5 separate regions of the Homo sapiens genome follow, and all the other regions are linked to region 1. Evidence: promoter capture Hi-C in human tissues and cell types (Jung and others, 2019). All regions are on one chromosome and are shown on one strand. Each heading gives the region's core, a stretch centred on a gene start or on the middle of the fragment in contact. The rest is flanking DNA. Distances are from core to core; before and after follow the strand shown. Region 1 holds the start of DENND5A (DENN domain containing 5A). Region 2 overlaps SWAP70 (switching B cell complex subunit SWAP70). Region 3 has its middle 35 kb from the start of SWAP70. Region 4 has its middle 33 kb from the start of WEE1. Region 5 overlaps WEE1 (WEE1 G2 checkpoint kinase).

What was found. The method cuts DNA at HindIII sites, captures the fragments that hold promoters and counts their contacts. A contact is called where the count stands out against the background at its distance.
Region 2: a fragment that was not itself captured here is called in contact with the fragment with the promoter of DENND5A in region 1 in 1 of the 25 tissues and cell types used here (hippocampus).
Region 3: a fragment that was not itself captured here is called in contact with the fragment with the promoter of DENND5A in region 1 in 1 of the 25 tissues and cell types used here (pancreas).
Region 4: a fragment that was not itself captured here is called in contact with the fragment with the promoter of DENND5A in region 1 in 1 of the 25 tissues and cell types used here (liver).
Region 5: a contact is called between a fragment that was not itself captured here and the fragment with the promoter of DENND5A in region 1, in 1 of the 25 tissues and cell types used here (lymphoblastoid cells).

The regions. Positions count from the first base shown.
Region 1 is chr11:9,262,106-9,268,323 of GRCh38, forward strand. DENND5A (DENN domain containing 5A) reads right to left here and starts at 3,245. Exons shown (of 23, transcript NM_015213.4): 1 at 2,856-3,245. The coding sequence starts at 2,964. RefSeq lists enhancers at 1,777-2,116, 2,277-2,396, 3,477-3,546 and silencers at 2,687-3,046, 3,097-3,196. The HindIII fragment of the contact is 15,544 bases long and covers 1-6,218 here.
Region 2 is chr11:9,684,798-9,691,015 of GRCh38, forward strand. The region is part of intron 1 of SWAP70 (switching B cell complex subunit SWAP70); the gene reads left to right. Among named protein-coding and RNA genes, the nearest start is that of SWAP70, 24 kb to the left of the region's middle. The HindIII fragment of the contact is 4,108 bases long and covers 736-4,843 here.
Region 3 is chr11:9,625,836-9,632,053 of GRCh38, forward strand. No RefSeq gene overlaps it. Among named protein-coding and RNA genes, the nearest start is that of SWAP70, 35 kb to the right of the region's middle. RefSeq lists an enhancer at 1,228-1,277. The HindIII fragment of the contact is 3,883 bases long and covers 2,019-5,901 here.
Region 4 is chr11:9,603,461-9,609,678 of GRCh38, forward strand. It overlaps the pseudogene RPL23AP65. Among named protein-coding and RNA genes, the nearest start is that of WEE1, 33 kb to the left of the region's middle. The HindIII fragment of the contact is 6,349 bases long and covers 1-5,989 here.
Region 5 is chr11:9,578,003-9,584,220 of GRCh38, forward strand. It overlaps WEE1 (WEE1 G2 checkpoint kinase), which reads left to right. Exons shown (of 11, transcript NM_003390.4): 6 at 3,530-3,676. LOC124902827 (small nucleolar RNA U13) reads left to right here and starts at 26; the gene lies at 26-129. The HindIII fragment of the contact is 3,154 bases long and covers 209-3,362 here.

The DNA of each region.
Region 1 (6,218 bases), core at 1,995-4,494:
TTGAAAGACAGTTTTTAAACATTTTTGAAGGTCTACTTGATGAGATTATTTTTATTTACATTCTTTTTTTATAGATGAGGACCCTGACAGGGTTATCTCTAACTTGCTCCCAATCACAAAGATAGTCAATAGGAGAGCAGGAATATTACCCTAAACTCATGCTCTCGCTAACAGTTAACTTCCCAGCTTCATTCTTATGCTCTATCATTCGCAAAACATTCTATCTTCTCAAACCAAGTGTTCATACAATTTGACACTCAAAAACACGCATAAAAAAAAGTTTATTCCACCACCTTAGTTTCTTTTACTGAGAAGAATTATGTTGTTTTTAATATTTCTCAACATGTTAGTGTTTTCTAAAGACCTCCAGCCAGGCCAATGAGATGCAGTTTAATGTCATGAGAAGAGCACTGGACCAAGCAATTAACTAGTGTATACAGGCCCCACTGTCCTTCCTGGGCCTCATTTTCCCCTCTGAGGTCCCTTCCAACACCAATACCCTGAACCGAATTCCAAAAATTACATCAAAGTCACAAACTTACTACATATGAAAAAGATGAAAAACATCTGTACTATAAGAATTTGAAGACCTTAAAAGATAAACTTGAACAATTATTAGGTACTCATCAAAATAATTTTTTTTTTTTGGACGGAGTCTCGCTCTGTCGCCCAGGCTAGAGTGCTGGAGTGCAGTGGCGCGATCTGGGCTCACTGCGAGCTCCGCCTCCCGGGTTCACGCCATTCTCCTGCCTCAGCCTCCTGAGTAGCTGGGACTACAGGCGCCCGCCACCACGCCCGGCTAATTTTTTGTATTTTTAGTAGAGACGGGGTTTCACCCTGTAAGCCCGGATGGTCTCGATCTCCTGACTTCGTGATCCGCCCGCCTCAGCCTCCCAAAGTGCTGGGATTACAGGCGTGAGCCACCGCGCCCGGCCTAAAACTAAAATTTTTTTAAAGTAAATTAGAAACCATAAAACTACCCCGACAAAAAGCCTAATATTAATTATATTACTGCTTCATATTTTCTCCACCTGCTATTGAGGAAATAGCTCATTTTTTTCTAACCTTGTTAAAGCATGAATTTATCATGCTTTTTTCTTCTTTTTCTTTTTTCCCAGACAGAGTCTCGCTTTATCACCCAGACTGGAGTGTAGTGGCGCAATCACCCAGACTGGCGCAATCTCAGCTCACTGCAACCTCCCCCTCCTGGGTTAAAGCGATCCTCCTACCTCAGCCTCCTGAGTAGCTGGGATTACAGGCACGCGCCACGACGCCCGGCTAATTTTTGTATTTTTAGTAGAGACGGGGGTTTCACCATGTTGGCCAAATTGGTCTCGAACTCCTGACCTCAGGTGACCCGCCCGCCTCGGCCTCCCAAAGTGCTGGGATTACCCCTGAGCCGCCGGGTGGTGGGCCACCGCGCCCCGCCTAATTTTTTTTTCATAAGAAACACTGGGCCGGGCGCGGTGGCTCACGCCTGTAATCCCAGCACTTTGGGAGGCCGAGGCGGGTGGATCATGAGGTCAGGAGATCGAGACCATCCTGGCTAACAAGGTGAAACCCCGTCTCTACTAAAAATACAAAAAATTAGCCGGGCGCGGTGGCGGGCGCCTGTAGTCCCAGCTACTCGGGAGGCTGAGGCAGGAGAATGGCGTGAACCCGGGAAGCGGAGCTTGCAGTGAGCCGAGATTGCGCCACTGCAGTCCGCAGTCCGGCCTGGGCGACAGAGCGAGACTCCGTCTCAAAAAAAAAAAAAAAAAAAAAAAGAAACACTGGACTTTTTCTGGTGCCCAAAAACAAAACTGTCTTGTCATCGTTGAAGCCGAGTAAGATTAGTCAACAGGATAATCACTTTCGAAAGAGAAACTTTACAGTGACAGAAAAGTGAAAAGGAGTCCCCCTCATCAGGATGACACAACCTTAAAGTACAACCCGACAAACCTCCACCCACTTGAAACCCACTAACTGGAAACTCCAGACAAAAACTTATTTTCAAAACTGTTACAATTCAAAGACTCCAATGACAGTGCAGTGGAAAATTCACGGGGACTGTATAATTTTCACGGCCTTCTGCAGTGAGTGCCAAATCTGGTCAGGGCCCCATCTTTGACTCCCCTCATCACTTTCCCTTTCAAATATGACTTGAAACGCATCAGAACACACCAAGCCTCTCCAACTACAATGCTGCTACCCTTTTATTCACAAACGCCTCTGTCCTCATAAAGGACATAAATTACTTTTCAAAAAAGGCATGGCCCCGGGATACAAGCCCTTTCCAAGGCTAAGGGAGTTCCTACTCTTCTTGGTGCCGCCCAAGTTCACTTTATTACTTCATATCCCATCCAGACGCGCAGAGCTGCAATCTGACTCAGGGGGCCCAGCCCAGGGCTGGGGTATAACGGTTTTGAGGAACTAGTATCACAAGCTTCTTGGGAAGTGGCCAGATAAACTCACCAAGTTTTTGTTTTCCTTTTTTTTAAGTCTGGGTGGAACTTACTTTCACTAGGACGTGGGACGCCTTCCCTCCCTAATGGGTGCCAGAGGACAAGCTTTCCTTTATTTTAAACGAAGTCACTCAACCTACACCAAACTGAGAACACACAACCCTCCCTCTTTCTGGTCGCCGAAGACGTGGCCACTGCGCAGCGGGCCGTAGGTTTGGACCCCTCATGGCTCAGAGCCCCTCATCCGTTTCCCCCCTCCAGTCCAAAGCCCCCTTCGCCCGCGCCCGCCCTGGTCCTCCCGGCCGACACTCGCCCGGCTCCCGGGACAAAGCGGGGCTGAAGGAAGGTTTCTTCTGGGGTCCCCGACGACAGCGGGCGCGGGAAAGCGCCCCGGGCTCGGCGCGCACTCACCCGACAGCTCGTCCGGCTCCAGCCCGGTCTCCGTGTCCAGTCCGCAGATGACAAAGTAGTCGGCGAAGCGACTGGGCGCCGAGCCCCCTCCGCCGCCGCCGCCACTCATGGCGCCGGGGCCGAGACCGGCCGGGCAGTGCGGAGCGGCACCGAGCCCCCGCAACCCGGGCGCCCGCCCGTCCGCCCTCAGGCCGCCCCTCCCGCCGCCGCCGCTACCGCGGCTCGGGCCGCCGCCCCCGGCCCTGGCCCGGTCCCCTCGGCCGCCGCGGCTGCCGTGACGGGGCGGGGGGGCACCGGGCCGCCCCGCACCGCATCCTGGATGCCTTCCCCTCCGCGCCGCCGCCGCTGCAGCTAGCCGAGAGCGCCGCGGCCCGAGCGAGCCTGGAGAAGGGCGGAGAGCGCGTGGACAGCCCCCACCGTGACCCTCCTCCTACCGCGCCTGCGCAGGCGCCGTCTGGGAGGGGGCGGGCTCCTGGGGGAAAGGATGACGTGATGCTCTTCGGACCCCGCCGGCCGCAGCTTCCCGGGAGGTCGCCGCAGCGCAGCCGGTGACTGCTTGGTCGCCCGCAACTGCCACTCCCCCGGGATTGAGACTCCTTTAGGGAGGGCTGAGGAGGTGCGAGAAGAGTGGGCGCAGCCTGCAGAGCCGGGCATTTGGCCCATGCTCTGCCCCCAACCACCCACCCAGCAAGCAGAGGTCCAGAGATCTTAGCGCGGCCTTGCCATGAGGATGGGGTCTCACGACTGAGCTCGGAAGCTCACCTAATCCTAGCTGCAGCGTGTCAGCCTAGACCCCAGACAGGGCCTTCTCCCTGTCCTCTCTTTTGGCAGGGGCGGATGAGCCGGTTTTATATTTACCCTTATTTTACAGACGGGGAAACTGAGTCTCAGAAAGAAGCAAGGACTTATCCAAGGTTACGCTGAGTCTAAGAGACATAAGCCTGGTCTGGAATCCTGGGCTTGTGGTCAGCTCCCCGTTCCTCGCCGCTCCCACCTCCCAGCCTGCCCTTTTCCCACGCTCTCTCCTTTTTTCTCTGGAAGCCTCCAGAGGCGCCTGCCATTTGGGAGCTCCTCTTCCTCTTCACTCTGTGAAAACTCTCAGATCCACCCCTAAACCTGTTTTCCTGTAAGAGGATAGGGAGGAGGCGAAGGGAAACTTACCTATTGGTCCTTGTCCTAGGACCCTCCGATTTCCTTTCCCATAGAAGCTAGGCAGATGTGTCTTTGTTGGAAACTGGAGATCAGAGGCCAGAAAGGCAACACAGGTATAGTGGTCACTAGCATGGGCTCTAGAAAAAAATGCTCGGATTTCAATCCTGACGATCATTTACTTTTGACCTTGAGCAAGTTAATCTCTAAGTGCCTGGCGTCATGGTTTTTGAGACAATTACATAAGGTAAATGCAAGTACAGGTAAAACAATGAGAATACTGCCTGGAACATGGAAATCACTCAGTAAATATTACAGATTTTTTTTTTCAAGACGGAGTTCTGTCTTGTTGCCCAGGCTGGAGTGCAATGGCGTAATCTCGGCTCACTGCACCTCTGCCTCCCAGGTTCAAGTGATTCTCCTGCCTCAGCCACCCAAGTAGCTAGGATTACAGGCGCGCACCACCACACTCGGCTAATTTTTTGTATTCAGTAGAGACAGGGATTCACCGTGTTGGTCAGGCTGGTCTCGAACTCCTGACCTCAGGTGATCCGCCCTCCTCTGCCTCCTAAAGTGCTGGGATTACAGGCATGAGCCAATGAGCCCCCAGCCTGGATTATTATTATTGTTCCAGAAGGAAGTACTCTTACGGTTTGTTCTGGGAGGCTGCCACTAAGAGCTGTAGAAGGCAGCTGGCTTCCCCAAAGGCTGAGCCTAGGCTCTCTCCTAGGTTCTCCTGGGTACTTCTCTCAAATATTGTTTCCCTTGGGGAGGTTTACCTAGAGGTTATAGCCATTGTCTCTCGGAGCCATAGCACCTGTTCCTCCCTGTATCTAACCTGCCTGAACTAGGGGGAGAAAAGTGGGGAGGAGAAGGTTGCTTCAAAACGCCCATTCATGGTGATGCTCCACCCGTATCCTGCATGCTGGGGACACAGAGACAGTAGAGGGGGATTAGTGAGTTAAACAGTCACAGAGGCTGGGCGTGGTGGCTCACACCTGTAATCCCAGAACTTGGGGAGGCCAAGGCTGGCGGATCGCTTAAGGTCAGAAGTTCAAGACCAGCCTGACCAATATGGTGAAATCCCATCTCTACCAAAAATATAAAATTAGCAGGGTGTGGTGGCAGGCAACTTTAGTCCCAGCTCCTCAGGAGGCTGAGGCAGGAGAATCGCTTCAACTCAAGAGGCAGAGGTTGCAGTAAGCCGAGATCGTGCCACTGCACTCTAGCCTGGGCAACAGAATGAGGCTCTACCTCTAAATAAATAAATAAATAAATAAATAAATATGCCAGGCGTGGTGGCTGACACCTGTAATCCCAGCACTTTAGGTGGCCAAGGCAGGCAGATCACGAGGTCAGGAGATCAAGACCATCCTGGCCAACATGGTGAAACCCCATCTGTACTAAAATTATAAAAATTAGCTGGGTATGGTGGTGCCTGTAATCCCAGCTACTCAGGAGGATAAGGCAGGAGAATTGCTTAAACTCGGGAGGTGGAGGTTGCAGTGAGCCAAGATGGCGCCACTGCACTCCAGCCTGGCAACAGAGACACCCTGAAAAAAAAAAAAGAAAAAAAGAAAGTTACAGAGCACAGAAGGAGGACATCTTTCCAGATTGGGGAATGGTCAGGGAAGGTTTCCAGAAGGAGGTATATACTCTGACCTGAGTTCCAGAGGATCAACAGGAAGTTTCTCAGGTAAAAAGGGGCAGGGAAAGATGTTTAACTCAGTATGTGTAACAACAGGGAGCAACAGATAAAAGGGTATGTTCAGGCATCAACAAGTAATTCATTAACATTAAGATGGGAGATGGAGAGTTTAAAGGGAATGAAACCAGGGCAGGGGAGGAAGAAGGAGAACAGAGGAAGGAGGCATGGATTCAAATACCAGGCTAAAGAATTTATCCTCGGCCAGGCGTCGTGGTTCACACTCACGCTGGTAATCCCAACACTTTGGGCAGCTGAGGCAGGAGGACTGCTTGAACCCAGGAGTTTGAGACCAGAGTGGAGAACATAATGTGACCCCTGTCATAAATAAATAAATAAATAGTATTTTTTAGAAATAATTTATCCTATAAGATATATGAGTTGAGGATGAGTGAGGTAAAGTAAAGGAATTCAAGCCAAGGAGTGATATCTGACCCAAATCTGAGAATGATCACTCTAGGGGTGATGTGGAAAAAGAAATTTGAGAAAGGAATAAACGTCCTCAACTG
Region 2 (6,218 bases), core at 1,540-4,039, 420 kb after region 1:
AAAAGAAAAAAATTCTTGGAAATTCTTAAATGGGACTAATTTAGCAAACATTTGTTGAACAGCTCTCTCATTAGGTACTTCATTAGGTTTTGGTATTCACAGATGGCTAAAATACGTATTGCACAGATGGCTAAAATACAGACTCTCTCTTTAAGGAACTTACAGAGTAGTGAGAAAGATAAAGAAGCTTGCTGGAGTTAAATCTCCTCACAAATCATTTACCTTCTTAAAAGACATTTGTGCAATATTTCACTGGGGGGCTGGACTCTCAGGAGGCTGTCCCAAATTGGGGGACTTTGTTGTCCATTAGGGTGACTTTCTTTTTTTTTTTTTTTGAGATGGAGTCTCGCTCTGTGCCGAGGCTGGAGTGCAGTAGCACCATCTCGGCCTGCCACAACCTCCATAGGGTGGCTTTTTAAAGAGGTATGGGAAAGCATGCTTTGTGGGTGGCTCAGAGGAGTTAATTTTATCAACTTTATAGTTCTACAATGATCTTTTCATTTTCTAATTTTACTGGTGCTTTCTAGCAGGAGCCTTGTTTCACCTAGTCCTGATACTGCAGCAAAATACCACAGACTAGGTAATTTATAAATAATATAAATTTATTTATCACAGTTCTGGATACTGGAAAGTCCAAGATCAAGATGCTAGCAGATTGAGTGTCTGGTGATGGCTTGCTGTCTGCTCCCAAGATGGTTCCTTGTTGCTGTATCCTCACATGGCAGAAGGGCAAAAGAGACTAGGGAACTCTCTCCCTTCAACCTCTTTTATAAGGTCATTGATCCCATTTGCGAGAGTTCCGCTCTCTTGACTTAATCACCACCTAAAGGCCTCACCTCTTTTTTTTTTGAGACGGAGTCTTGTCTTGCTCTGTCACCCAGGCTGGAGTACAGTGGTGTGATTTCTGCTCACTGCAATCTCTGACTCCCTGGTTCAAGCAATTCTCCTGCCTCAGCTTCCCGAGTAGCTGGGACTACAGGCACACACCACCACGCCCGGCTAATTTTTGTATTTTTAGTAGAGATGGGGTTTCACCATGTTGGCCAGGATGGCCTCGATCTCCTGATCTCGTGATCTACCTTCCTTGGCCTCCTCCCAAAGTGCTGGGATTACAGGCGTGAGCCATTGCTCCCGGCGAGGCCTCACCTCTTAATACTGACACATTGGAGATTAAGTTTCAACATATGAATTTTGGGGGACACATTCAGACCATAGCAAGCCCTCCACCCTACTTAATTTTTTAATTTTCTATTTAAAATATATAAAATATTAAAAGATAAAAGCTTCATTTTCTGATTGAAAGGTAATACATAGAATACTCAAACAATGTATTAAAGTACAGAGTCCAAAGTAAAACATTCAAATTCTACCACCAAAGGCAGGTTGTAATTAACTTTTCAGTGAATATCTTTCTTATATATCTCTCTTTCTCCCTTCCCCCATCATGTACACACATGCATATACACATATGTAAATACACAGACATATATGTCCTTTTGTATAAATAGGGTCATATTCTGTATCCTTTCGTATCCTCTTTTATTTTCTTATTTATTTATTTATTTATTTATTTATTTTTGTGAGACAGGTTCTCGCTCAGTTGCCAGAGCTGGAGTACAGCGGCACCATCACGACTCACTGCAGCCTCAACCTCCTGGGCTCATTTGATTCTCCTACCTTAGCCTCCCTAGTAGCTGGGACCACAGGCTCACAGCTAATTTTTGTATTTTTTGTAGAGATAGGGTCTTACTTTGTTGCCCAGGCTGGTCTTGAACTCCTGGGCTCAAGTGATCCTCCTCCCTTGGCCTCCCTCAGTGCTGGGATTACAGGTGAGAGCCACTGTGCCTGGCCTGTAGTCTCTTCTTAAGCATTGTGTTAGGGTCATCTTTCTGTATAAATGCATATAGATACAGACACCATCCTTTATAATGACTGTGAACTCTTTCATTGTGTTGATGCATCATGCTTTATTTAACCATTTCCTATTCACAGGTATTTGAGATGTTTTAAATGTTTTTAACCCAGGATACTGCTATACATTGTACAATGCGTAGGTTACCTGCCCTGTCCCCCAAACAAATAATTATTCAGCCAAAAATGTCAGTAGTACTGAAGTTGAGAAAAACCTGCTCTGTACCTTCTGCAGTGTTGGATATTGGTAGTCTTTACTCCCTTATATCTCCTCAAACACCAGGTATTACTTAGGCAAAAAGTAGTAGCTCTTTTAATGTGCATTCTTTTGATTACTAGCAAGATTAAGCATCTTTTCCTATATTTTATTTGCCTATTTTTGAAGTAAAAGGTGAGGTTTAATCTTTAGTTACATGATACTGCAAGCTACGCAATTCCGTGTAGAAATAAGGAACCCATTCAGAGGACAAGGTTCATACAGTATGTACAATTTGGAACTGCTCAAATATAGTTTCCTTGTAAAAAAGTATCACAATAACCATATTTAAAGGCATTCTTAGTAGAGAAACAGTAAGAAAAGTTATACCAAATATAATACACAACAAACAACATTATGCCTTAGCCATACAATCCAAAAGTTAAAGGTCCCAGGAGTTCCACCTGAACTTGAAAGGTATCCTCTATTTATTAGTGATTAGTTTCTTTTGTGAATTTTCTATTCGTGTCCACAAGAATGATTTGAATATTGGAGCTATTTGCCTTTTTTGTTTTTTTATGGTTTCTTTCTTTTTAAAAGAAAATATAAGCATTTTTCTGTGGTCAAATTTACCAGTATTTTCTGTTTAGTTTCTGAAGAGGGGTAAGTTGGTAAGTTATCCAAAATAACTTTAAAAAGGTGGTTCAGTTAGAGTGTAATCCAGTGCCATCCATGCTGTATGACATCAGTGGCATATATTCTGTGGACAGCATTCCAACAGATGACTTTGAGTTACTTTTCCTTAATCTGTCTGTAAGTGTTCTGCTCTTACTGAATCTTCGCTTAGCCCTATGCTAGTCACTGAAGGATGCAGAAGGAAAATATTTATTTCCTCCCTTCAATAAGGGAGGATATTTGATAAGTTAGATATTTGAGATACCATTAGTATCTGAAACAGAACATAGTTAAATGCTGAATAGGAGTTCATGGGGCAGGGTGGTAATCCATAAAGATTTCCTAGAGTTTATGAATGACCCAATCTTGAAGGATGTGACTAGGCAGAAGAGAAATGTTTCCAGCACAGGGCATCACTGTGGGACAGAGAGCTAAGAGATTTGAGTTCTAGTCCCTACTTTGTTGCTAATTATTGTGTGACTTAGGCCAAGTCTCAGGCCACAGTCTTTTTATCTGTGAAGTGAGGAGATAGAAATAGTATATTTTCTAAGATTATTGTTAATATTAAAGTATCACGGCTTTAGTGTTAAGAGAATTTTTAGAAAGAATTCACTTAGCAGTTATTGAAAGTCTTCTGGATTCTGGGCAGCATGCCAGGTGCCATGGGCATGCAATGTTGTATAAGATATGGGCCTTTCAGAAATGTACAGTCTTACAGGAGAGAGAAATCATGTGTGGTAGTTAGCACAAGAGGTACTGCTTGGGAAACAGAGTGAAGAAAGATCATCTTGGTTTGGGTGGTGAAGGCTTCAGAAAGAGATGCCATTTTTGTTAGGCAGGAAAGGAGGTAGGGGTAAATTGAGCAAGGGCCCAGGGGAGAAAGGGATGTGGTACAAGTTGCCTGGGATGCAGTTAGTAAGCTTATTTGGCTGGATTTATATGGTTGGTGCAGAGGGTGGGAAGAAATAAGGAAGGTGAAGTGGGCTGGCCTGTGGAGTGACTTAAATATACAACTCACATATTTCCTTAGCTTTTACTTCTGTAGTCTTCTGATGATTTTTAGGCAGGGGGATAACGTGATGTTAGTGGTACTTGAAGATTTGGTGTAAGTGTCTAGGATGGTAACTGATTGTACTTAGGGATTGAGAGCAATGTGAACAATGACTTTGAGATTTTTGAGGCTGGTTAGATTAAAGGTAAGAGGAAACAAGCAAGACTTAAGCAGTGACAAGCAGGATGAAAAGATGTTTGGAAGGGGAAAATGAGTCCATGCGGGAATGGGCAGGACTTAGAGTAGACAATGCTTTTAAGGCAGGGCATAGCTGTGGTAGGAAATTGGTCATGCTGGTCCATTGTTAGGAAGAATTTTCTGGTAATTTGCCATTGGCTTGAAATTTTATAAATCAGACAGGAATTTTAATGTTTTAAAAAAAGATTGCCCATTATGAGTTATAAGTCTATAATTGTGTCAGTTCAGATAAGTCTTTTGGAATAGAAATCTGCCCCCACTCCGCTTTTTTTTCAGTGTTGAATCTTGCCCATTACGCACATCCTGTAAAGGGAAACAGTGTGTTACTGGGTGGCACGTTTTAAATAACTTTTTAGAATCTCTACGTCTTTGGAGAAAGGAGGGTGAACACTACTTACTCGTGTTAAAACACTGTTCACCATCCTTGATTTCATTTTCATGATGGCTGGAGTAAAATGCTCAAAAGGGGTAAATGGCAAGCAAACCACTGAACAGGAACAGACCACACGAGCAGGGCTCATGCAGTTAATTAGTCATCTTGTCAGCAGAGGCCCTGCAGAGGCAACTGCAGACAGCTATGAGGGAACTGGAGAGATGAGTTTCTGGCATGGATATGGATCTGTTATTGTGGTAACAATAGTTTATTCTTCAGATCAGCAGAATGAGAGCAAAGCTGCTTAGCAATTATGTGGGTGCTGAAAGAATGGCCTTTGGAGGAACAGGCATTTGAAGCGGGATAAATTCAGCTTTTTCAAGAAACTTGCAAACACCCTGATTAGAATGATTTGGGGCAGTCCTTTTACAAATCAAGAACTTGTAGTCCTCTTTCTGATTCTTTTGTCTTAATCTGCTTTTCAGCTTCCTCATCTGGAGAAGGGGTTAGTGCCTCTTAGTGCAGATTCCCCCAGAGGGATAGGGTGCTGGGAGATGAGGGCTCCCAGAGAGAGAACGGTCCCAGACTTCTAGGTATGTGGACTTCCTTGCCACTGGCACTAACTTGGCTCTGCTGAATAGTGCCTGTCATCTCTGTTGGGCCCTGTGGAGCTGATGGGGTGGGGCTGGGGTAGCACCAGCACATCACTAAAATTTAGAAACAACTCACGGGCGTGTCCATCTTTGTATTGGCAGGGCTATCTGTTTTTCCAGAAACAGAGGGAAGGTAGCAAAGCATGGAAAGGACACCAGAGTGGGAGGCTTGGGTCTAATCCCAGTTTTGCTACACGTAAAACTCTGTGATTTGGGACACATCTCCTAATCTCTGACTCAGCCTCTTCGTCTGTAAAATAGCAATAATATCTATTCTCCCTGTGGAGAGGCTAAAACAAATTAATAGATGGTATGAGTCTACTTGAAAAAGCATAAATTGCTGTATAAGTTTATGGAGGAGCTTTTACTTCTTTTTACTAGTTTATATTCCGGCCATCAAAAATTTTATTTCTTGTATATTTTATTTTTATAAAAAGAAAACCTTGGTAAGGTGTAGTCGTTCACGCCTCTAATCCCAGCACGCAGGCCAAGGTGGGTGGATCACTTGAGGTCAGGAGTTTGAGACCAGTCTGGCCAACATGGTGAAACTCTGTCTCTACTAAAAATATAAAAATTAGCTGGGTGTGGTGGCAGGTGCCTGTAATTCCGCTACTTGGGAGGCTGAGGTGGAAAGATTGCTTGAACTTAGGAGGCAGACGTTGCTGAGATCATGCCATTGCACTCCAGCCTGGGTGACAGAGTGAGACTCTGCCTCAAAACAAAAAACAAACAAACAAAAAACCTTGTTGAGACTGGGCATGGTGGCTCATGTGTATAATCCTGGCACTTTGGGAGGCTGAGGTGGGAGGATCACTTGAGCCCAGGAGTTTGAGACCCGCCTGGGCACACATAGTGAGACCCCATCTCTATTTTTAAAAAATACAAATAAATCTTAAAAAAGAAAAAAATACTTGAGATACTGTCTAAGCTTTAAAGAAAGGTTGCTGATAAAAAGTTTTAAAGATAGTACACAATTTTTTCCTCTTTTAGAAATACTGTTTCATTGTTGCTTTATTCAGTTGGTTGTTTTATATATACATATATATTATAATTAATTAATTAATTTTTGAGATGGGACCCCCTCTGTCACCAAGGTTGGAGTGCAGTGGCATGATCATGGCTCAATGCAGCCTCGACCTCCCTAGGCTTAGGTGATCCTCC
Region 3 (6,218 bases), core at 2,710-5,209, 360 kb after region 1:
AGTTTCAGCAGATAATATTACCTCCCACACTTCAGTGAGGAACCAGAGGCCAGAAGATGGGAACTCCCTCATCTTCCCTCCCACGAGGCTGCAACCCTGCCTGAGACTGTTCCTTCTTCCCTCTTGTTACAGTGGAAGGACAGATCTCTGCCCACTATCGGCCACTCTCTCCTCCTGTCCCTGCACCCTATTGCTCTCACCTCTCCAAGAACCCTGCTTCTTTAATTACCTCCTCTTTCCTATGATATTAGCATATGTGTCCATCGGAATTACTTGCTGGATCCCCATCTTCAGCACCTTCTTGGCCCCATGTCCTCTTCCAGCCACCATCCAATTTCTTTGCCCCCATTCACAGCAAACATTATTGAAAAAGTTGTTGGCTCACTGTGTGTCTATCTCCTCCCTTCCCATTCACTCTTTTGAAAGATGTATGGAATGTGTAGTCATTGAATCAATATTACACTGGATACTTGATATATGTTGACTGTCATCCTGTGATCCCCCCTTTCATGAAGTTTGTGGACAAAATCCCTAAATACGGCATTTACAGCTAGTGACAAGTGCCGTATAGAAAACAGAGGGATGTGATGGCTTTCATGACCCATACGGGCATTCAAGAAATACATATTGAGCAGCCACTATGCACCAGGAACAGTTTATATTCTAGTAGGAAATATATAGAAAAAAAAACAACAGCAATAAAAATTAAAACATGTATGTTAGTGATATGTGCTATGAAACAAAGAAAGCAGAGTGAGTTAGGAGTGTAGGCAGAGGGATAATGATCCTTAATTAGCATGGTGAGGTAAGGCTTCATTGAGAAGGTGCTTTTAAGTGAGGACCCAAGGGAGAAGGAATTAGCTGTGCAGCTATCTGCGGGGAGAACATTCATTCCCAGCAGAGAAAATGGCAGAAAATGGCAGGGCAGAAGCGTGCCTGCTCTTTGGAATAACTGCGAGAAACTGGCAGCAATAGAAAATGAATCACCGTGCTACAATTATTTGACCTTATTACATTTCAAGACATTGACCCACGACTTTATCACTATTGAACAGCCCCCTCATGCCTTTCCTGTCCTCCTTTTCCTCATGCTTTTCCTGTCCTCCATGATTTCCGGGCGGAAGCGTGCCTGGCTGGTTGGAAAAACTGCAAGAAACTGCAAGGAATGAGAAGGAGGCCAGTCTGCCTGGAGCTCTGTGAGCAGAAAGAAGGAGTCAGGCTAGGGGATGAACCCTGCATCACAAAGGGGCCGAGTTGTTGGGGGCAGAGGTCAGCAAGCTTTTCTGTAAAGTGCTAGATAGTAAGTATTTTTAGCTTTGCAAGCCACATGTGGTCTGTATCGCATATTCTTTCTCTTTTTGAAAAAAGTGTGAAAGCCCTCTCTTCCCTCTTGCCATACAAGGATTTTGCTGGCCGGCCTTAGTTTGCCACCCCCTGGGACCTTGTAGGCTGTTGTAAAGATTTTAGCATTTACTCGGAGTCACATGAGAAGCACTAGAGGATTCTGAGCAAAGGAGTAATAGGTCCTCTCTTACATTTTGAGAGTATCTTTCAGTTTTGTTTGTTTGTTTTTTTAACCACAGGCATATACCACCATGCCCGGCTGATTTTGATATTTTTTGTAGAGATTGGGGGGGGGGGGGGCGGATCTCATTATGTTGCCCAGGCTGATCTCGAACTCTTGGGTTCAAACGATCCTCCTGCTTCAGCCACCCAAAGTGCTGGGATTACAGACATGAGCCACTGCGCCCAGACTTTAAATATATGTTGGGAAACCTGGCCAACATGGTGAAACCTATCTCTACTAAAAACACAAAAATTAGCCGGCGGCAGTGGCACCCGCCTATAATCCCAGCTACTTGGGAGGCTGAAGCATGAGAATCGCTTGAGCCCAAGAGGCGGAGGTCGCAGTGAGTTGAGATCACACCATTGCACTCCAGCCTGGGAGGCAGAGAAAGACCCTGTCTCAAAAAACGTGTGTGTGTGTGTGTGTGTGTGTGTGTGTGTGCGCGCATGTGTGTGAGTGATATATATATGTCGTTTATTTCATAAGGTGCCTGTAAGTGTTAAGAATCTTTTAGTTTTTATATGCGGAATCTTTTTTTTCCTACCCCCAACACTCTTGAATGGTAATTTGGCTGGGTGTAAATTTCTTCCATTTATAGGGCATTTTCTTCAATTCTGGGGGAAAAAACTCAGTAGTTTTCTCATCAAATATTGCTTTTTCCATCTAATTATCTTTCTCTGGAACACTTATTATTTTATAAATATTTGAATCTTGTAATCTGTTCTCCATGTTTTTAGTTGCTGTTTTTTGTTTATCTTGTGCTATATTCTGAATGAGTCCTCAGTTTTGTCTTCCAATTCCCTAATTTACTGTTTGAGTGTGTTCAATCTAGAGTTTCTCCCACTTATGACCTTTAAAATTTCAATTAGTGTATTTTTTTTATTTCAAGGATTTCCAGTTGGTTCTCTCTCATACTGTTTCATTTCTGCCTATTTTTGCTGAATAATTTCATTTTGAAATGAAAGTTATGCATTCATCTCTGAACATTTTTAAAATCCAAAGGAAATTTGAGAAAATTTCTGGTCTGATTGTTAATTTCAAAGGCTATCTTTCTGTTTTGTAATTATGGTTGAAAGGTCTTTTAGCGTGAGAAAGTATTCATTTTTGTTTGATTTCTCTCTCTCTTACTCTCCCCTCATTCCTTTCCAGGAGGGCTCCAGCTGGCCCTCTGGGCCTCAAACTAGAGTCAAAGCTTAGGATTATGATTTTTCTATCCCTAGATATTAGGGATGTGGCATATTAGGGATAACTAATATCCCTAGATATTAGTTATGGGTCCAGCAGACAGCTTGACAATTTCTGGTAATGAGGTGTTCTCTTTGCTCCTCATCTCTCTAGTCTCTAATAAAGTCTCAGTCCATAGGTTAACTGCTATTATCTTCATCTTCTTTTCACAAGCGATGGAGCTCACTTCAGCCTCTGGTATCAAGCTGGAAGCCTCCGTCTCCCACCTTGTGGGGAGTGCTTTAGCCCCCTACTCCCCTGCTAAACCCCCATCCAGCTGCTAGTGTCCAACTTCCAGACTTAGAGCCCCACAAGCTTGAGACTTCAGCCTAAGGAAATACTTAGCTTAACGTGTTTCCATTCTATTTCTGGTTCATGGAGATACATAAGATATATATATATCTTGGATTACATATCATGGAGATATATAAGAGTGCAACTGTGTCTTTTTGGAAAAAATCATTTTTATATTTTAAATATCATGCCTGGGTGTTTGAAGCAAAGGGGGTTTTGGAGACAAGCTCACTTCCTTGTGTTGACTTCAACCACCTCATACTTGGTTTCTGTCCCCTACCCCCCTACAGAAACCACCACGGTTAAGGTCACTGGTGATCTTTAGGATGCCAGATCCAATGGACGTTTCTTTGTCTTAATCTTACTTGGTGTATTGTCAGCTTTTGATATAACTGACCACACTGTTCTTAAAACGTCACTCTCTGCTTGACCGCACACTCTCCTGAAACTCATTCTCGTTGTCCTTTACAGCTCCTCCTCCTCTCCTTGAATTCCACATGTAGAAGTTCTGGCCAGCGCAGTGGCTCACACTTCTAATCCCAGCACCTCTAGAGGCCAAGGCGGGAGGATCACTTGAGGCCAGGAGTTCAAGAGCAGAATAGGCAACATAGTGAGGCCCTGTCTCTCCAAAAAGCTTTTAAAAATAAAAAATTAAAAAACTGAAAAACTAATATGGAAATTCTACACCTCTATCTATACCCTTCCCTTGACGAGATCCTCAATCCCATAGTTTTAAATACTGTTTATATTCTGATAACTCCCAAATTTTTATCTCCAGATTAAATATCCTATCTGAGTTCCAGACTCAGTCTACATACAAACTTCACAATTCCAGTTGCATGTTTAATAAATATCTTAAACTTAACATGTTCAAAATAAAACTCTTGATTTCTTCCTCCAAACTTCCTCCTCTTTCAGTCTTTCCCAACACATGGTAATATCATTTATAAATTGGGAGCCATTATTATTTTTTTTTGTGTTCAAGTCTTTTACTCTCCAAGTGTAATACAATTGTTCAGCTACAACAGGAATAATGACACAAAATGGTTCTGAAAAGTACAATAGGAATATATTGTTCACTGGTTTATTTTTCCAAATGAGCAACAGGCTATTTACAAATAAGCAGATCTCCAATGATGTATATTCAAATGCAAGTCTATCACTGTTTGAAATCTAAATGAAAAAAAAATTTATTCAGGCACATTTGATCTGAGACAACAAGCAAACTTTCTGGTATAATGACAGATTCACTTCACTTTTGTTTCCAAAAGACGTGAGCACCAAAATTGTCAAAGAACACTTAATATTTAGTAAAACGGAAGCAATGTAAAAGTTAAGGAGGGGAAAAAGCATTTTCAAAGGAAATCGTTGGAGATCGATTTACTGCAAATAAAACATACTAAACATACTCCTGATAGACATGAATAATAATAAGTAACAGGTACTCAAGAAATGGCAGACCTTGCTGAGTGCGGTGGCTCACGCCTCTAATCCCAGCACTTTGGGAGGCCGAGGTGGGTAGATCACCTGAGGTCAGGAGTTCAAGACCAGCCTGGCCAACATGGCAAAACCCTGTTTCTACTAAAAATACAAAAAATTAGCCAGACATGCTGGCGGGCACCTGTAATCCCAGCTACTTGGGAGGCTGAGGCAGGAGAATTGCTTGAACCCGGGAGGCAGAGGTTGCAGTAAGCCGAGATCGCACCATTGCACTCCAGCCTGGGAGACAGAGTGAAACTCCATCTCAAAAAAAAAAAAAAAACAATTGTTTTTGGCTTGGCATGGTGGCTCACACCTGTAGTCCCAGCATTTTGGGAGGCTGAGGAAGGCAGATCACGAAGTCAGGAGTTCGAGACCAGCCTGGCCAAGATGGTGAAACCCTGTCTCTACTAAAAATACAAAAATTAGCTGGGTGTGGTGGTGCACACCTGTAATCCCAGCTACTCTGGAGGCTGAGGCAGGAGAATCGCTTAAACCCGGCAGATGGAGGTTGCAGCGAGCTGAGATCACGCCACTACACTCCAGCCTGGGCGACAAAAGTGAGACTCTGTCTTGGAAAAAAAAAAGTTGTTTTGTTTTTGTTTTTGGAACTTTCCCATTATAAACAATCTTTGGGTCACACTAGCTGAAGATGATTGGAAAAGGTATTTGTTGGTGCAGAACTGTATTTGCTTGACATCACTAAAGGAATTCTGTAGTAAACACGAGGACATCACCGGAGAAGAGCAAAGATTCATTATTAAACTGGGAAGATCCTACTTCCAGGGCTGGAGCTCTTGAAAACTCTTCAGACGCAGGCAAAATCTGCATGTCAGCTTTAGGATACTTAATGCAATAGTCTCTCATCAGTTCAACTTGTTTGGCCTTGTCAGGGTTGGAGTCAGAATTGAAAAGCAGAACCATGAGCTTGATGTTCTGACTGGGGATAAGACATGTCTTAGGGTAACTATATTTTTTGTTTTTAGGATCCAGTTGTATTTCCTTTTTTTTTTTTTCTTTGAGACAGAATCTCACTTTGTTGCCCAAGCTGGGGTGCAGTGGCATGATCTCAGCTTACTGCAACCTTTGCCTCCTGGGTTTAAGCAATTCCCCTTCCTCAGCCTCCCGAGTAGCTGGGATTACAGGCACGTGCCACCACACCCGACTAATTTTTGTATTTTTAGTAGAGACGAGGTTTCGCCATGTTGGCCAGGCTGGTCTTGAACTCCTGATCTCAGGTGATTCACCCGCCTCAGCCTCCCAAAGTGCTGGGATTACAGGCATGAGCCACTGCACCCGGCCTGTATTTCCTTTTTATGATCTGTCTACAGCTTTGTCTTTTTTTTCTTTTTAACTGTTGGTATTTTTCTTTTCTTTTTCTGTTTGTTGTTGCTTTCTGTTGTTGTTTGTTTGTTTTGTTTTTTCTTTTTGAGACTGAGTCTTGCTCTGTCACCCAGGCTGGAGTGCAGTGGCGCAATCTTGGCTCACTGCAACCTCTGCCTCCTGGGTTCAAGCGATTCTCCTGCCTCAGACACCTGAGTAGCTGGGACTACAGGTGCCTGCCACCACAACAGCTAATTTTTGTATTTTTAGTAGAGACGGGTTTTCACCATGTTGGCCAGGCTGGTCACAAAATTCTGACCTCAAATGGTCT
Region 4 (6,218 bases), core at 1,565-4,064, 340 kb after region 1:
AAATTCTAATATTCTTACACATCCTTCTACCCTGGAAATTGTCCTTGTTACATAGGGTGAGTGCCCAATGACCAGGTCTGTACTATATGACCCTGTCCCCATGGCATATAGCTAATTGGTCCAGTGGCAGACTTGAATCAAGAGGTCTCATCAGATCTCTTCACAGCCCAACCACCAATAGTTTGGGGGTCTCCCTCTGAGCCAAGCCAGGCCAAAGTCCCTTCGCAGAGCAGAGTGAGAATAGACCAGTCCCTCTCTGCCAGTGGCAGGTGGGATGTGAATGAGGCCAGGGAGCTAATGGCACCCAGTCACACTGAGGAGTTCAGGCAATGGTGGGGAAAGCTGAAGGCAGCATGCAGAGGAAACCAGAGAACTGAATCCTTGGTTCCATTCGTATCTGACCAAGGCCCCAAATCAGAGTTTCCCTTGTATTCTTCTGGTTTAGTTGCTACTTGAAACACTCAATTATCCTTCCAACCAGCTTCAACCCCCGCTTTTCCTTCTTGAAGTAGTTGGTTAGGTTTTTGTTTCTTGCACCACACACCAAGAAAACAGATGACAAACTGAGTAGGTTAAATTAATGTTATCCAAAACTTTGTTCATCCTGAGACCTCAGATTACCTTGCATCCCTCAATCACAGTGGCACCCAGGAGGCACTGTGTCAATAGGGACTGCTTTTCCCCTAGCCAGTTTTGGAAGCTCCATTACCAGAGCTGGTGTCTCACTTTCTAGAAAATTCTCAGTCCATTTACATAAGACCTGGAACTGCCTGGTAAGAGCCCACAGTTCAAAAGGTGATATAAGACCCTCCTGGAGTGTCTTCAGAGGACACGCTGGGTCTCATATCTGTTTTCAGCTTTACACATGACTCAGCCTCTCTTTTTTTTTTCTTTTTTTTTTTTTTTGTGGTTCAGATGGAGTCTGGCTCTGTCACCCAGGCTGGAGTTTAGTGGCGCGATCTTAGCTCACTGCAACCTCCGCCTCCCAGGTTCAAGTGATTCTCGTGCCTCAGCCTGCGGAGTAGCTGGGATTACAGGCACCTGCCACCACACCTGGCTAATTCTTTAATTTTATTTATTTATTTATTTATTTATTTTTGAGACAGAGTCTCGCTCTGTCACCCAGGCTGGAGTGCAGTGGTACGATCTCAGCTCACTGCAACTTCTGCCTGCCAGGTTCAAGCGATTCTCCTGCCTTAGCCTCCTGAGTAGCTGGGATTACAGGCGCCCACCACCACGCCCAGCTAGTTTTTGTATTTTTAGTAGAGACGGGGTTTCACCATGTTGTCCAGGCTGGTCTGGAACTCCTGACCTCATGTGATTTACCTGCCTTGGCCTCCCAAAGTGCTGGGATTACAGGTGTGAGCCACTGCACCTGGCCAGCCTCTTCTTATAGTATGCTTAATATCTGCATGAAAGCAAAATACATTTCTAAACATGCAAACAAATACACTGCACCCACTTACAAGACAATTGCTGTCTACTCCATGATTCGTGTCTATGGCCAATACAAGGTGGGCCAATGGCCAAGGCACAGCATGTCCTCCTGAAATCATCTGTGGGAGGAGAATTCACAGTTGAGCCACTCAGGACTTGAAGGAGAAAATAAGATTATAAATATTTTTATATTCATCAACTTGCTGAATAAAAGAGATATTTGGGACATTTTAATACATCTTAAATTAGTAATGATGAGTACTATTCAAATTTCCTTTTCTGTCTGGAGGGAGGTGACATCTGTTGGTCTTTTTTTGTCTTTTTTTTTTTTTTTTTTTTTTTTTTTGAGATTGAGTCTTGCTCTCACCCAGGCTGGAGTGCAGTGGCACAATCTCAGCTCACTGCAACCTCCACCTCCCGGGTTCAAGCGATTCTCCTGCCTCAGCCTCCCGAGTAGCTGGGATTATGGGTGCATGTCGCCCAGCTAATTTTTGTATTTTTAGTAGAGACGGGGTTTCAACCTTGTTGGCTAGGCTGGTCTTGAACTCCTGACCTCAAGTGATCCACCCGCCTCAGCCTCCCAAAGTGCTGGCGTTATAGGCATGAGCCACTGTGCCCGGCCATACAGTCTGTCATGTCCCACAGAGTTTAGGGTAGAGAATAGAAAGTTCAATTTGGGAAATGCTGAAATTAAGGCCCCTGCAGGGCATGCTAGTGGCAATACCCAATGAGCAATCAAGGCCCCAAATTTAGGTTTGGACATCATTGGTATTTGCGTGGTTGTTGAAACCCTGGGTATGAGTGAGATAATCCAAGAATTTGTAAAATGAAAGGAGAAGTAAACCAAGACAGAGCTCTGGGAAAAGCAACATTTATGGGGCTAATGGGAAGAAAAGGAATTAGTGAAGAAAAAGGAGAAAGCGCATTTGAGGAGTTAGAAGAAAATGATGGGTGACCGGCAATTTAATGGCCGCAGGAGAAGAGGATTTCAAGAATGAAGAAGTGGTCAACATAGAGAAGAGGACTAAAAAGATAAGGACTTAGAGGACTAAGAAGATAAGGGGTCCCTGGAGTTTAGCAACAAGGAAGTCCCTGGCAACATTAGTGGCTTCAGTGGTGTAATAGAGAGAGAACCCAGATGTCAAGGGGTTGAAGACCCTGGCGCCAGTCTACAGGGGAATGGAGCTTTCCCTACACTGCTCAGCACTACGTGATGTCAAGAAGATGGAAGGCCTTTTCACAAGATGGCACCGAAAGCGAAGAAGGAAGCTCCTGCCCCTCCTAAAGCTGAAGCCAAAGCGAAGGCTTTAAAGGCCAAGAAGGCAGTGTTGAACGGTGTCCACAGCCACAAAAAAAAGATCCACACGTCACCCACCTTCCGGCGGCCCAAGACACTGCGACTCCGGAGACAGCCCGAATATCCTCGGAAGAGCACTCCCAGGAAAAACAAGCTTGACCACTATGCTATCATCAAGTTTCCGCTGACCACTGAGTCTGCCATGAAGAAGATAGAAGACAACAACACACTTGTGTTCATTGTGGTTGTTAAAGCCAACAAGCACCAGATTAAACAGGCTGTGAAGTAGCTCTATGACATTGATGTGGCCAAGGTCAACACCCTGATTCGGCCTGATGGAGAGAAGAAGGCATATGTTCGACTGGCTCCTGATTACGATGCTTTGGATGTTGTCAACAAAATTGGGATCATCTAAACTGAGTCCAGATGCCTAATTCTAAATATACATATATATATCTTTTCACCATAAAAAAAAAAAAGAAGATGGAAGTTTAAGGGGACACAGATGTAATGAGATAAGGAAGGGGGAGCTGTAAGAACAGGTGCCTATGTTTGGATAATCGGATTTTGTCAGAGTATTACTTTTAGGTGATGACAAGGCTCAGAGTGTGACCAAGGGGATGCGTGGCCTGAGCAGTAAGAAGGGCTAAGGTCATTGGAGACAAGGGGGTTAGAGACTTTAAGATTAAGATATAGAAGGTGTTATCCGCAGGGACACTAAATCACCCAGGATGATGGCAGTATTTCTCCTGGGAAGTCTGTGAGTCAGGGGCCAAAGTCCTCAGTGAATGTAGGGGAAGTGCCGAGGAAAGGAGCCCAAAAACAGTGGTGATGTGAAAGAGGCAGTGAGGACGGGGCATGTGGACCACCTTCCTCCTTGTCACATGGTAGGGAGGCTATCTTGATGAAGTTAGCAAGGACTCATGCCATGTCCTCAGCCAGGTTTCAGTTAAAGCAGAAAGTGGAGGGAGCTCCCATCTGTAAATGAACCAAGGTTCCAGGTGATACAGGCTCAGGACGCTGTAGTAATAGCCGGAAACACAGAGGGCAGCATCATCCCGAGAGTGTAGGAGAGGCCCACTGTCGGATTCACTTGCATTTTGGGAGTCAGCCTAGGATGACAGGAAGAGTTGGGGGCATCATGGGGCTGATTGAAGAGGCACTAAAAGAGACCAGGATTGACTTGGCTTCCACGCTGTGCAGACCAAGGCCCTAGGCTATGCCTATAGCTTGGTATGCACCAAGTTCCCAACAGAAATTTGGTGAGCCTCTGCAGGGCCTGGCCCTGGTGAGGAGAGGGATAACTAGACCTAAGTCAGAATAGAAGTAGACAGTGGTCTCCTGGACCCCCTGGGTGGATATGTCTTTGTCATGGACTCTGTAGTCGGTCTCCCATCCATTCACACACTGTTCTCTATGGAGGAGCTCTTTAGGTAGGACTGGCTTCACTTCCAGCCTCAGGGGCGTGTCCTAAATCAGTTAGAAAAATCCCATCCCCGGGCCCAGTGTTTGGGTCAGGGAATGGCCCAAGCCAGCTCTACCCTCCTCTGTGTGTTGACTTTTCTCTGGTCACAGGGGTTGCTTTGGAGTGAATCTATGACAAACATTGACCCAAACAGATTGAAGCCCAGTAATTTGAAGTGAGATTGAAGTCTAGTGCAAAGATGTAAAATCTTTAAAAACTGCAGCCATTTCTACCCCTATAAGGAGAAACAACTTGTCTGAGTCCATTCTTTTTTTTTTTTTTTTTTTGAGGCGGAGTTTTGCTCTTGTTGCCCAGGCTGGAGTGCAGTGCTGCAATCTAGGCTCATCGCAACATTTGCCTCCCAGGTTGAAGCGATTCTCCTGCCTCAGCCTCCAGAGTAGCTGGGATTACATGCATGCACCACCACGCCCGGCTTATTTTGTATTTTTAGTAGAGATGGGTTTTCTCCATGTTGGTCAGGCTGTTCCCGAACTCCTGACCTCAGGTGATCTGCCCGCCTTGGCCTCCCAAAGTGCTGGGATTACAGGCGTGAGCCACTGTGCCCGGCCGCCTGGCTAATTTTTTTTATTATTATTAATTTGTAGTTTTTGTAAGCAAGATACAGGGTCTTGCTTGGTTTCTCAGGCTGATCTCGATCTCCTAGGATTAAGTGATCCTCCCACCTCAGACTCCCAAATGTTCTTTATTATCGACACCAGTTTGAACTGGATTTTCTGTTACCATGCCTTACCTGAGAGCATCCCAGCTGAGAGAAACAAACCTTAGACATCCCTTTGCCCCATTAGCTCCCACCCATCTTCCGGGACCAAGGTATGTATGGGGGCTGGGCATGTGTAGATTCTGGAGTTCTCAGCCCTCAGTGGACTGTGATTCTGAAGGCAGCTGGATGTAAACTGTGAGTCGGGGAGGGGGTCAGCTTTCTCTGTCAGAGACTATTTGACCCCCAGCCCCTATCTTGGTGACTCAGACATTTAGTTGTATTTTGTAGAATCTTTTGCATGACCACACCTGACTTTCTTAGTAATCTCCCTAAATTAGTTTTCTGTTAATAAGAATGTTTCTTGTCTCTGATCCATACCACGTGGTTATTATGTGCTTTTCCTTCCCACTCTTATTCATTCAGTGAATATTTATCAAGCGTCTACCAGGTGGCAGGCACCATTCTGGGCACTGGGGATACATCAGTGAACAAAATAGACAACAATCCATGCCCTTGGGGCTTATAGGATTACATTCTAATAGGGAGATATAGACAATAAACAAAATAAACAAGTAAAAAATATATAACTTTAAACAGTGATAAAATGGGCCAGGCATGGTGGCTCACTCCTGTAATCTTAGTGCTTTAGGAGGCTGAGGTGTAGGATTGCTTGAGGATCAGAGTTTGAGACCATCTTGGGGAACATAGTGAGAGCCCTGTCTCTACAAAAAATAAAAATAAAAAATTAGCCAGGCATGGTGGCACATGCCTGTGGCCCTGGGAGGATGGGGCAGGAGGACTGCATGAGCCCAAGAGTTCAAGGCTGTGGTGAGCTATGATCACGCCACAGTACTCCAGCCTGGGTGGTAGAGCAAGACCCTGTCTTGAAAAAGGCAATAAAATGCTAAAGTGGAAAATTCAAATCAGGGAGTTTTTGTGTGTGTTTATTTTAGATAGGTTGTATAGGGAAGGCCTCACTCAGAAAGTTGCTTTGGCTTTTGTGTAAAGACCTCAACAAACTGAGACGTGGACCACGGATGACTATGGAGGGGAAGATCACTCTCAGTAGAGGGAACAAGTCCAAGGGCCTTGAGGTGGGCACATGTCTGGTGTGTTTGAGGAACGGCAAGGAGGCCAATTCGACCCAGAGGGGTGATGGAAGGGTAGAGTAGGAGGTCACAGAGGTGATGAAGCTGGTCACATGGGGCCTTGTGACTTGCTGTTAGTTGGCTGGGTGTGGTGGCTCACACCTGTAAACCCAGCACTTTGGGAGGCTGAAGCCGGTGGATCACTTGAGG
Region 5 (6,218 bases), core at 536-3,035, 310 kb after region 1:
CAAATCTTTTATGGATTATTTCTCAACACTTTTGTAGTTTATAAGTGTGATGATTGGGTTTTCATACTCAAGTGTGAAATGTGCCTCCCTCAAACCTTGTTACGACATCAGCACATTACCAGTCTGAAATGAAAAATATCTGTAGTTTGTTTCTATTTCTGTATATCTTCTGTGAATATAGACAATTTAGAGTTTAGTGAACACTTGAGAGGAGATAACAAAATTTATTTTTGTTGATTCTTATTATTCCTTAAATAAACAAGACCAGTTATCTCATAACTTGTAAATAAATAAGTGGTGTAGGTATGGATTCAGGTTCCCCATATTTAAAAACAGTGAACAAAACAGAAGTAAAAGATCCATTTTTCAAACCTGATTCCTCATTATTTAATAAAGTTCTCCACACTTGAAAGAACTTGAGTGTCTAGTATACAGCCTTGCTGCTAGTTTTTTTCACACAGCTCTTGAAATGTTTCTATTCATACCATCAAAATATTTATGTAACTATCACAACCTTATGGATTATTCTATTTCTTAACCTTCATTTTTCAGGTATTGCATTTAACCTAGAACAACTTGACCACAATGTCGTCTCCATTTGATATTTGTTAGACACCATCTCTTTTCAGTTTCCTTCTTTCTCTTTCTCACCTTCTTGATGTGAATAATTCTCTTAACAGAATAGTTCATTAGTAGTCCAGGAATGTCAAATATGTAGCAACCTACCAATACATGGTTGTGTAAATCAGATGATTCTGAGAAAACTCACGTGGGCCTGGGAGATAGGGAACTGAGTGAGTAGTCTTGCTACCCTCTCAGATTACAAAAACCTTGTCCTGTAATGTTAGATTATAAAATAATCTATTGAAAATAAGTTTTTATTTATTTATTTATTTATTTATTTATTTATTTATTTATTTTTGAGACAGAGCCTTGCTCTGTCGCCCAGGCTGGAGTGCAGTGGCGCAATCTCTGCTCACTGCAACCTTTGCCTCCAGGGTTCAAGCGATTCTCCTGCCTCAGCCTTTTGAGTAGCTGGGATTACAGATGCGCGCCACCACTCCCAGCTAATTTTTGTATTTTTAGTAGAGATGGGGTTTCACCATGTTGGCCAGGCTGGTCTTGAACCCTGACCTCGTGATCCACCTGCCTCGGCCTCTTAAAGCAATATAAAACTCTTGAAGAAAATAAATAGTCCTGCATGAAACAGGACTGCCTCTTTGTGTGGCTATTTGTCCTACTTAGATAAAAGAAAATACGACTATCTGGATGCATTTGTGATCTCTTTTGTTTCCTGTGTCCACCGTTCCTCTCTCCACATAAAGCTTTGAATATACCAATAGGGCTCATCTTCACATCTTTTCCACAGTTTCACTGGAAAAGGATTCTGATATTTATTTGTACATGAGTAACTGATTCCCTTTATTGTGATTTAATTTCCTTATTATCTTATTCATTTGCATTATAAGCCTTTTATCTTGGTTTGGTGATAGATTGGAATTAACCTGTATAAACAAGTGTAGAAAAATATTGATGGATAGGGAAAGAGAACCTGAAATGTCAGAACCTGTTTTGCTCTCATCACCTTTCTTGCCCTTCTAGCAATAAGAGAAGAAATGGGCACAGCTATGGTTGCTGGACCTGCTAAAAAAGAGAATTAGCCATATTCTTTCTTAGCACATTTGATCTAGGACTTAGCCTATCTTGTCTGACAGCGTTATTGGTTTGCTCCCTTCTAGAGCACTCTTTCCCCTCCCTCAGTTCAAGATTTGTACAAGTAAGGAGAACATACTTAAGACTAAGATACCGAGATGTATAATTTATTTTAAAAACACATTTGACGTTATGTTATTTTCTTATTTAAATTATAGGACCTCCTTTTCTGACTAATACATCATTGACCTTCCTAATTTTAGTACCCAGCTCTGATTTTTTTATTCCTAAGCCTTAAACAGGAGATATTTAAAACAATTCCTCATTGCCTTTGAGATGAAATACAAACTTTAAAAGTTTGAAAAAATATAAACAAATTAACTGATTGATTTAACTAATTCTATAAAAGCAGGTTATGGTCTCATTCATAGTAAGAGTAGTATAAATTATAACTATACTAAAATACTGTCTTTTTACCTATAACATTTATAGACTTGTCAAGGGTATGGGGAAACAGGTATGCTCATGCATTGACAATGGGCATATATATTGGTACAGCCTTCTCTGTGGAGAAGAGTGTGTGTGTGTGTGTGTGTGTGTGTGTAAAACACACCATCTCCATATATTACAAATGTGCATACCCTTTAACCCAGCAATTTGGCTTCTAGGTGATATACTAAATGTACGTGAAATTACCAATGTACAAGGTTATTTATTAGGCCATAGTATGTAATAGCAAAGGCTTGGAAATAATTTTAAAATGTCCATCAAATGAGGGACTGATAAATGCATTTCTTTCTTTCTTTCTTTTTTTTTTTTTTTTTCGGGGGACTGAGTCTCACTCTGCCACCAGGCTGGAGTGCAATGGCCCGATATCGGCTCACTGCAACCTCCGCCTCCCAGGTTCAAGCAATTCTCCTGCCTTCTGAGTAGCTGGGATTACAGGTGCACGCCACCACACCCAGCTAATTTTTGTATTTTTAGTAGAAACGGGGTTTCGCCATGTTGGCCTGCATGGTCTCGAACTCCTGACCTCGTGATCTACCTGCCTCGGCCTCCCATAGTGCTGGGATTACAGGCGTGAGCCACTGTGCCCAGCCAATAAATGCATTTCTACTCAATTATACAATGGAATTCTATAAAGACAAGAAGAAATGGGTTGTCTTTGTATATTGGTATAGAGTGATCTTTAAGATAATGAACATATGCTGTTATTTATGCAAAAAGTTGAAAAGAATACATAGACCTGAGCTGGGCGTGGTGGCAGTGCCTGTAGTCCCAGCTGCTTGGGAGTCTGAAGCAGGGAATTTGAATTTGGGTTTGGGAATTCTAGGCTGTAGTGCCGATCTATGTTGAGCATCTATGCCGATCTATGCCGATCTAAGTTGAGCATCAGTATGGTGACCTCTGTGGAGTGGGGCACCACCAGGTTGCCTAAAGAGGGGTAAACTGGCCTAAGTTGGAAACAGCACAAGTCAAAACTCCTATGCTGATAAGTAGTGGGATCAAGCCTGTGAATAGCCACTGGATTCCAGCTGGGCAACATAGATAGACCCTGTCTCTTATAAATTAAAAACAAAAACAAACAAAAAAAAAGCCAACCTGATAATACTGGTTTACTCTGAGAAAGAAACAGGTGGATTGCTGAGGTGTATGATTGAGAGAGAGACTTTACATTTTATTTTGTACCCATGCAAATGTATTACCTATTGAAAAAACAATAAAATTTTGATTTCACAAGCAGGTTGAAGGGAGAAGGTCCTATAAAATAACACTTTCTTGGTTGAGATTGGTTGGTTGAGACTCATTTGGTAAAGATGGAAGAAAGAAAATATTTCAGAAAGAAGAAAATGCTAATATTTTCTATCTTTGTTAGGTGGAAGTTTAGCTGATGCTATAAGTGAAAACTACAGAATCATGAGTTACTTTAAAGAAGCAGAGTTGAAGGATCTCCTTTTGCAAGTTGGCCGAGGCTTGAGGTATATTCATTCAATGTCTTTGGTTCACATGGATATAAAACCTAGTAAGTATTGCAGATCTTCTGACCTGTGTTCTTTGGGGTTATAGAGAATAAATTACTTCATTATGACAACATTGAAAAAATATATATCTTCTGTTTTCTCATTGTTAGTTTTAAAAGGCCTTAGATCCACTTACCAATATTGTTTTATGATTTCTATTCATCTCTTCCCTTGTTAATCCCCAAAATTTGAGATAAACTTTTTTGAGACAGTGTCTCATTCTGTGGCCCAGGCCGGAATGCAGTGGCACCATCTCCGCTCACTGCAACTTCCCCATCCCGTGCTCAAGCAGTCATCCCACCTCAGTCTTCCGAGTAGCCGGGACTATAGGCATGTGCCACCATGCCCAGATAAATTCATTTTTATTAAAAGCCAGAAATTTTTGCTGCATCTTACAGGAACTACAGGTGGGATACTAATGAGGGCACTAAAAATCTGTGTTTAAAGCCCCACTCTTCCACTAGGCCAGACCATATTAAAATTTCCCCAGTTGACTCAAGTCCTTAATAGTTGATTTGTTCAAATTAGTATCTACTTAAGGATCATGCATTGCATCTGGTTATATCAGTTTTTCTTTTTCAGAACCCATCCTCTGCTTTGTAAAAATAATATACACTTATCTTGCAAGCTATCCCTTTTTCTGGATTTGACTAGTTGCTTCTTGTATCATTTAGCTTGTTCCTTTTTCTCCTATATTTCCTATAAATTGGAAGTTATAACTAAGGATTATGGATTCAAGTTAAGCATCTTAGGCTAGATGAATTTAGTGAGGTTTTATTAATCTTTGGAAACCTGTTGATTTGTGAGAATTTCAGTCATTTTGTACAACTTTATGAGTTATATGCTAGAATTTCATATGCGTATGTTAACAAGTCACTAAAGTTTCTTCTTTCTTTTTTTCTTTTTTTGAGATGGAGTCTCGCTCTGTTGCCCAGGCTGGAGTGCAGTGGCACAGTCTCAGCTCTCTGTAACCTCTGCCTCCCACGTTCAAGCGATTCTCCTGCCTCCGCCTCCCGAGTAGCTGGGATTACAGGCATACACCACCATGCCCGGCTAATTTTTTGTATTTTTAGTAGAGACGGGTTTCACCATGTTGGCTAAGCTGGTCTTGAACTATTGACCTTGTGATCTGCCCACCATGGCCTCCCAAAGTGCTGAGATTACAGGCGTAAGCCACCGTGCCCAGCATGTTTTTTATTTTCAAAAGACAAAAATATATTTGGATTTAAGGCAGTAAATGTGAATTCTTAAGGAATAGCTGTACTCATATAAAGTGTTAGACAAATATAATAGACCCTTATAAGGTATAAAAGTTGAAAATATTAAGGGATGTGAAGTTTAAAAATCTTCAAATTTAGACCAGGTGCAGTGGCTGACGCCTGTAATCCCAGCACTCTGGCAGGCCAAGGCAGGCAGATCACGAGGCAGGAGTTCGAGACCAGCCTGGCCAATATGATGAAACCCCGTCTCTACTAAAATTACAAAAATTAGCCAGGTGTAGTGGTGCGCACCTATAGTCCTAGTTACTCGGGAGGCTGAGGCAGAAGAATTGCTTGAACCCGGGAGGCGGAGGTTGCAGTGAGCCGAGATTGCACCATTGCACTCCATCCTAGGCAACAAAGTGAGACTCCGTCTCAAAAAAAGAAAAAAAAAATTCGCCGGGCGTGGTGCCTCACGCCTGTAATCCCAGCACTTTGGGAGGCTGAGGCGGGTGGATTGCCTAAGCTTGGGAGTTCACCACCAGCCTGGACAACACGGTGAAACCTCGTCTCTACTAAAATACAAAAAATTAGCTGGGTGTGGTGGCAGGCACCTGTAGTCCCAGCTACTCTGGAGGCTGAGGCAGGAGAATTGCTTGAACCCGGGAGGAGGAAGTTGAAGTGAGCTGAGATCGCACCACTGCACTCCAGCCTGGGCGACAGAGCGAGACTGTCTCAAAAAAAAAAAAAAAAAACCTTCCAATTTACAAATACCATCACAAAATAAGTTGTCCTATAAAGAAAGTAAAACGTATAGATGACTCCAGTAAATGTAACATAAATTTAATACTAAATATTTGTGCGTGTGTGTGCGTGCACGCGCGCGCACACACACACACACACACACACACACACACACACACACACATATATATATATATATATATATATATATATATATATATATATATACTTTTTTTTTTCTTTTGAGACAGGGTCTTGCTCTGTTGCCCAGGCTGGAGTGCAGTAGTGCGATCTCGGCTCACTGCAACCTCTGCCTCCTGGGTTCAAGCGATTCTCCTGCCTCAGCCTCCCTAGTGGCTGGTATTACAGGCGTGCACCACCATGCCTAGTTAATTTTTGTATTTTTAGTAGAGATGGGGTTTTGTCATGCTGGCCATGCTGGTCTTGAACTTCTGACCTCAAGTGATCCGCCCACCTTGGCCTCCCAAAGTGCTGGGATTACAGGTGTGAGCCACCACTCCCGGCCTTATTTTTTAGAGATAGTCTCACTCTGTTGCCCAGGCTAGAATGCAGTGGTGCAATTATAGCTCACTGCAGCTTT